2 separate regions of the Homo sapiens genome follow, and region 1 is linked to region 2. Evidence: promoter capture Hi-C in 16 types of primary human blood cells and fetal thymus (Javierre and others, 2016). All regions are on one chromosome and are shown on one strand. The core of a region is centred on a gene start or on the middle of the fragment in contact, and the rest is flanking DNA. Distances in the headings are between cores, read along the strand shown. Region 1 overlaps TKTL1 (transketolase like 1). Region 2 holds the start of G6PD (glucose-6-phosphate dehydrogenase).

Region 1 (3,675 bases), core at 589-3,088, 220 kb after region 2:
GGGTCCCAGGAGTCCTTCGAGAGATCAGGCACCGCTTGTGCAGGCTCAGAGGGCCCCTGCCGCATGAACACTCAATGCTCCTTGTATCACATCATCTGTCCCACCTAACCTTTCCAGGCGCAAACACTGCCCAGCCCATTCTCCCTGACACACTGTTTTCTGCATTTGCTGTGTTCTCTGCTATACCTGCTTTCGTCGGGGCACACTTTTTTTTTTTTTTTTTTTTTTTTTTTTTTTTTTTTTTTTTTTTTTTGAGGCAGAGTCTCACTCTGTTTCCCAAGCTGGAGTGCAATGGTATGATCCTGGCTCACTGCAACCTCCACCTCCTGGGTTCAAGTGATTCTCCTGCCTCAACCTCCCAAGTAGCTGGGACTACAGGCATGCACCACCACACCCAGCTAATTTTTGTATTTTTAGTAGAGATGGGGTTTCACCATGTTGACCAGGCTGGTCTTGAGCTTCTGGCCTCAAGTGATCTCTACCTGCCTCGGCCTCCCAAAGTGCTGGGATGACAGGTGTAAGCCACCACGCCTGGCCTGGGGCATACTATTCATCATTCCAAACCCAAAGAAACTGCGATGCTTTTCATGACACCTCGCTTGCCTGCAATAGCCACTCCTCTGTGTTGCCACTGACCCGCCCTGGTGACTGGGCACTGTGCACTCTGTTGGGGACACACAGATGTGTATGAGTATGGCCCCACGCTTAGTGAACATCAAATAACAAAGCCATGCTGGGTGAGAGGTAGACTATAGGTGATGCCTGAGAGCATGCCATGTGGCCAATCAAGGAAACAAAAACACCAAAACCTTCCAAAGCATTCTCAATGCCCACACACACCTTGCGGGTAGTGATCCTCCACTGTAATGATCCGGCCCTCTGTGGCTTTTGCACTGGAGACGATGGTGGCGACATCCAGAGGTTTAATGGTAAACAGGTCGATGACACGGATAAAAATATCTGCAGAACAGCAAAAACCAGCTTGGTACAAGAAAGAGACTCAGAATAACATGCAGGGATAAAAATAAAAAGAGCACTCAGGGCACAGGAGGTAGCTGAAGTCCTACCTCTTCCCAGCTTGAACTTCAATGCTCATACTCAACCAACTGACCTTGTTTCGAAAGCTCATCAGCAGCTGCTAAGGCTTCATACACAGTAATTCCAGCTCCAATAACTGTGACCTTGTCACTGACACAGTGGCGGAGGACCTGGTATAGTGCCAGCAAAACAGAATGCCGTGGTTACTACACACAGAATGCATGTCAAAGTGGAAGGCACTTTGCTATGCCGCTATCCCCCAATTCTAACAATTTCACTCCTTAATAACTCACTACTAAAAAAATCAGATGCATTTACAAGCCAGGACACATACTTTTTGATAGGAAATTACACTGCTCCAGCTGTCCTGGAGCATGGATACGCCACATACCCATCAGGAGTCTGGTTTGAGAGCTCACTATGGCATGCAAAGATTGGACTCCAGTGACTAACATGTTAATGAGAACATTCTGGGCATTGGCAACACGCTGAGTGCTAAGATCTTGTGTGCCTGAACTCTGAGAACCCTCACAGCCTCCCTGTAAGATCTGTTCAGTGGCACAACCGTTCTGCAGCTGAGGAAAGCAAATCTCAGAGCAGGAGGAAGTGGCCCAGGGCAGGGCTGGGACCCACAGCCAGGCGGGGCTGACATCAAAGCCCTCGCTCTCGACAACGTACTATTCTGCAAGCAAAGACAGAGTTCCTGGGCTTCTTTCATAGATTGTTGCCTCCAAAGCTACCCATCGGAGGCATCTGGAATTATTCTCCACTTCCCCTCTGTATAGGTTTCCCTGTAGCTTAAGAACCATTGCTGATAGTACAGAAAGGGTTTCTGAGCCACCCCATTCTTTAAGGATGTCCTGGCCTCTTAAAATACTTATACACGCATGCACACATATCCATGTCCTCTTTTCAAAGCCCAGCCCTTTAACGATCCATGCCATGCATGTTATCACACACATTTATCTCACATCCTTTACTATCAGTAAATTTACTTGCTTTTGTCAGGACAGGAAAATTATTAGAAAAGAGACGACAGAAATAAGCAAGCTCTGCAAACCATGTGAATGTCAAGAGACCCTCCCCATAGAAACAGAACCTGTAGTTAACACCAAAGGTGAACACTAACTTTTCCATTTGGTGGCGTTTTCCAGCTACGTTATGGCACACAGTGGACAGTTCTGGAAACACCTGCTTTATGGCAGCACTCTGGCCATTCTGAGTACTTGCAACTGTGAATTCTGGAGCAGCCTAGTCCTTAGCAACCAAATTGGATGTTACCTGCTGCTCTTTCAAGAGTGGCTATGGGCAAACCTTTCTATTCAGTATGATCTCAACTGTGTAAAATATACATGTATGCCTAGAACAAAGACAGGAAGGAAGCATGCCAAAATGTCTACAAGCCCCACTCCCTAGGTGATGAGCAGAGTCACTTATTTTCTCCATAGACGTTTCTGCTTTTCTCTATGCATGGCCCTGACAGGCAGGCTGAGCAGGGGATGGTCAGCGTGGTGGGCAGACCTGGGGAGACTGGGCTCACTACTCAGGCCTGGATTCTGGTCTTGGTACTCACAAGCTGTAAACCCTTAAGTAAGACACTTACTTTCTCCAATCCTCATCTACAGATAGGACTGATAATCTGAACTTCTCAGGGCTTTTGTGAGAATACCAGAGATCATGTTCCCTTTTATTCCTGGCCTTAGATCTGTAAAATCTGAACCTAACAGATTATTCATTTCAAGTGATTTCTATTATTTTTTGTCTTGTTTTTAGAGATAGGGTCTTACTCTTGTCACCCAGGCTGGAGTACAGTGGTGTGATCCATCATAGCTCACTGCTGCCTTGAATTCCTGCGCTCCTCTATCCTCCTTCCTCAGCCTCCTGAGTAGCTGAGACCACAGGTGGATGCCACCACACCCGGCTAGTTTAAAAAATTTTTGTAAAGATGGGAATCTCGCTATGTTTCCCAGGCTGCTCTGGAATTCCTGGCCTCAAGCAATCTTCCCGCCTTGGCCTCCCAAAGCGCTGGCTTCTGTTTTGTTTAGCTTGCGGCCAAGATAAATTATAGCCACGACCGCTCAAGTGGCTTCATGTTACTATCTTTGAACTCAACAACAACAAAAGACTCCATTTGGAAAGCAGAAAAGTTCAGGCTAAGCTGAAATTCATAGAATGTTCCTTCCCAAGGAAAAGCAGGTAAAGGTCACAACTGTTTTTTAAAAAAATGAGAGCAAAGAAAGGATGATGTCTCAACTCTGAAGATAGCTGGTGATAGATTCAGAAGTGTTCTTTTTACAGGAGATGATACTGAATAACGCAGGAGCGCGTAAGCCCTTACCTTGGCCTGTCCGATCTCAAAGCGTTCTTGTGGGGTGTAAATAACCATAGTTTCTGGTCGGGTGGTCCGAATGAAGCACATCCCCTAGGGCATAAATGGAGCCATGGTTTAGAAAAGCAAACAATGAATTTCCAACAACAGACGTTGAAAGAAGTGAAGGAGGGGTGTGAAGAGGACAGCTCTTTCTACTAAAAACACAGGCTTTGGAGAAAGGGGTGAGCATCTACAACCAGTGGACGACAGGTCCCAGCAGGACCTTGGGGCTGCCCTGAAGGACAAGCTCCCCCATGCCATCACAC
Region 2 (3,591 bases), core at 1-2,500:
AGATACCTAGCTGCCAAACTATATGTGAGGCATTTCCGAAGAATTTAACGACCTCGATAGAGCGCAGTCAAGTTTGGTGAACAGAATATGTCTCTGAACTAGAGGAGTCCTCACACAAGGAGTAGGGTCAGACCCCGCAGTGGAGGAGGAGGGAGGAGTAGAAACAGTCCAGCTCGCCGCCCAAGTAACCTGGGTCCTGAATCGGCCCGCCTTGGCCAGTGCTCCAGAAGCGCGGAGCAGGAACGGGCTGGGGCCCAAAAAAGAGGGGGGAGCCTGAACGTCCGGGGGAAGTTTCGGAGGCGGCGGAACGCCCACGGATGGAACCCTGTCTTTGGGGAAAAGGACCACACCTGTCAGCAGAGTCCGTCAGACGTGAGAAGGGTGGGAGCGGCGGACTGTGAACGCTGGTAGGGCCCCGGCGCTCCGAGAAAGTCCCAGTTTCGCGGTCGCCCTTCCCTACCACGCTTCCGGCTTCCGGTGTCATAGCTGTGGGATCCGGAAGTAAAAACACAAGCCCCGCCCCCGAGAACTCGGGAAGCCGGCGAGAAGTGTGAGGCCGCGGTAGGGCCGCATCCCGCTCCGGAGAGAAGTCTGAGTCCGCCAGGCTCTGCAGGCCCGCGGAAGCTCGGTAATGATAAGCACGCCGGCCACTTTGCAGGGCGTCACCGCCTACACGCCCCCTCGTCTCTCGGACGGCGGCGTCTAGCCTCGGGGCGCTCGGCCGCCCCGCCCTCTCCGGGGGAGGAATCAAGAAGAGACTGCCCAATAGGGCCGGCTTGACCCGCGAACAGGCGAGGGTTCCCGGGGGAGTGGCGCGGCAGAAGGCCCCGCCCAGGAGCCGAGGGACAGCCCAGAGGAGGCGTGGCCACGCTGCCGGCGGAAGTGGAGCCCTCCGCGAGCGCGCGAGGCCGCCGGGGCAGGCGGGGAAACCGGACAGTAGGGGCGGGGCCGGGCCGGCGATGGGGATGCGGGAGCACTACGCGGAGCTGCACCCGTGCCCGCCGGAATTGGGGATGCAGAGCAGCGGCAGCGGGTATGGCAGGCAGCCGGCGGGCCGGCCTCCAGCGCAGGTGCCCGAGAGGCAGGGGCTGGCCTGGGATGCGCGCGCACCTGCCCTCGCCCCGCCCCGCCCGCACGAGGGGTGGTGGCCGAGGCCCCGCCCCGCACGCCTCGCCTGAGGCGGGTCCGCTCAGCCCAGGCGCCCGCCCCCGCCCCCGCCGATTAAATGGGCCGGCGGGGCTCAGCCCCCGGAAACGGTCGTACACTTCGGGGCTGCGAGCGCGGAGGGCGACGACGACGAAGCGCAGGTAACCGGCCGGGCGGGCGCCGCGCAGGCGGAGGAGCGTACTGTCCCGCGCTGCGCCGCGCGGCGGTAAAATACACGCTGTTTGTTGTGCTTGAGAACCGAGCAGAATCGAGAGGGTCTTAACCAATCCCTTTATACCCCGCACCTCCTCTCTTGAGCCCCTGAGACCCCGAGAGCGAAGGGGACTTGCCGACCGGGGTCACCCAGCTTGGCAAGGGGAGGGCTGGAGCTGAACTCCAGCATCTGCACCATCTCCCATGCTCCAGGTCATTGTGGAGTTCCCGCTACAGTCGGGAATGAGATGGTCCTGGGCACGCAGTTCCATGCCCCACAAGGATTTTACTCGGTTGTCCAGAATTGATGCTGTAGTCGGAATACACCAATGCTTTGAGTAATTTTGTAATGTACACCCTGAATGAAGGCTGCCTAGGAGAGAGTGGCTGGAGCCCAGAGCCAGCAGTTTCTAACCCATCAACCACTCCCCAATGCCCAGCCGTTCACAAGGAGTGATTTGGGCAATCAGGTGTCACCCTGGTGTGAGACCCCAGAGGAACTCTCAAGAAAGGGGCTAACTTCTCAATGCTCTCCTGTTCTTCTGCCTTGTTAACGAGCCTTTCTTCCACCAGACAGCGTCATGGCAGAGCAGGTGGCCCTGAGCCGGACCCAGGTGTGCGGGATCCTGCGGGAAGAGCTTTTCCAGGGCGATGCCTTCCATCAGTCGGATACACACATATTCATCATCATGGGTGCATCGGTGAGTATCTCCCAGGCCCCAATCTTAAAAGCCAGGAAGTGCCTGCTCCATGCCTCAGCTTTTCCAACTAATTGTTGCAGGGCCCCACAGGCTCTGCTAAGTTGAGCTCCTCCTCCCGCTCCTGCTAGTGCGCCAGGATCATCCCGGCTCTACCTGGTGTGCATATGCACTTGCAAGACTTTTTTTTTTTTTTTTTTTTGGAGACGGAGTTTTGCTCTGGTCGCCCAGGATGGGGTGCAGTGGCGCCATCTTGGCTCACTGCAACCTCGGCCTCCTGGGTTCAAGCGATTCTCCTGCCTCAGCCCCCCAAGTAGCTGAGATTACAGGCATGCACCACCACACCCGGCTAATTTTTGTATTGTTAGTAGAGACGGAGTTTCACCATGTTGACCAGGCTGGTCTCAAACTCCTGACCTCAAGTGATCCGCCCGCCTCGGCCTCCCAAAGTGCTGGGATGACAGGCATGAGCCACCACGCCCGGCTGCAGGACGTTTCTGAACCCTGTGCCTAGCCGCTGAATGTAGCCCTTAATCCTGGAGTTGCAGGCTCTTTAGGGACTGTCTAGATGGACTTCTTGGGGAAAACAGGGAATGCTATTCATTCTGTAGTTTTTTCAGACCTGTTCATGCCTTAACAAATGAGTTCCAAAGGCAGGATCTGAGGCCTGATCTCTGCCTCTTCACTAACACTTCAAGTTCCGTCGATACAAACACTTAGCTTTTCTTTGAACACTGTCTCTTTGCCTCAATTTCGAAAGCCTACCAAGGAGCTCTGCCTCACCCCACCTGGCCCCAATTGTCCAGCTTGTAGAACCGCCATTCTGCACTCATAGGAAAGACAAAAGAATAGTATAGCATGAGGATTTCCATGGGAGGGGAGGGAGGGGTGGTCCTAGGACAGCCATCGCCCGAGACTAGAGCACCCTCCCCTGTGTCCCATGGGGCAGTGAGACTGTGCAGGGGCTGGTGGAACAAGGGCTTCATCTCAAATTACACGTGGTCTCAGTTTTCACTTTTAACCCTGGATGCACTCAAGAATCTCTCTGCTCATTACTGTATGACCATCTTTGCCATTAACTTACCTTGTAACCTTGAGCAGGAGCTCTATCAAAACTAGTTAGTTCTTCCACATCGTGCGCCCCTCAGTGCTGGCTGAGCTCAGTGGTTCTTTGTTCACATAGAACAACGCGCTGTCACACTTTGTCAAACCTACTCCTTGACACCTTTGTACTTCTGATCAGAACTTAGAAAAGGAGAGCCAAAAGGGAATGAGGAGGCAGCCGAGGGAGAAGGGCTCTGCCAGTGGCAGAGTAAGGAGGGGCCATTGTCCTCTGACTCCCCATAAGCCTGAGACCCAGGAGAGGTACCAGGTGGAGCCCACAGTAGATTGGGCTTGGCCTCAGCCCCAGCCCCAGCCTGGTCCCCTCAGAAGAGCCATACCTGGCCGGGCACGGTGGCTCACGCCTGTATTCCCAGCACTTTGGGAGGCCGAGGCAGGTGGATCGCCTGAGGTCAGGAGTTTGACACCAGCC

What was found. Contacts are between HindIII fragments. The CHiCAGO score rates a contact against its expected background, and 5 or more counts as called.
Region 1: a contact is called between a fragment that was not itself captured here and the fragment with the promoter of G6PD in region 2, in 2 of 17 cell types (non-activated CD4 T cells and naive CD8 T cells). The highest score is 7.5, in non-activated CD4 T cells.

What each region holds. Positions count from the first base shown.
Region 1 is chrX:154,325,124-154,328,798 of GRCh38, reverse strand. It overlaps TKTL1 (transketolase like 1), which reads right to left. Exons shown (of 13, transcript NM_012253.4): 10 at 3,377-3,460; 11 at 1,112-1,208; 12 at 841-960. Among named protein-coding and RNA genes, the nearest start is that of TKTL1, 31 kb to the right of the region's middle. The HindIII fragment of the contact is 6,606 bases long and covers 1-3,675 here.
Region 2 is chrX:154,544,505-154,548,095 of GRCh38, reverse strand. G6PD (glucose-6-phosphate dehydrogenase) reads left to right here and starts at 1,250. Exons shown (of 13, transcript NM_001360016.2): 1 at 1,250-1,307; 2 at 1,933-2,060. The coding sequence starts at 1,941. IKBKG (inhibitor of nuclear factor kappa B kinase regulatory subunit gamma) reads right to left here and starts at 476. Exons shown (of 10, transcript NM_001099857.5): 1 at 351-476. RefSeq lists enhancers at 89-368, 1,671-2,214 and a silencer at 809-1,368. The HindIII fragment of the contact is 7,888 bases long and covers 1-3,591 here.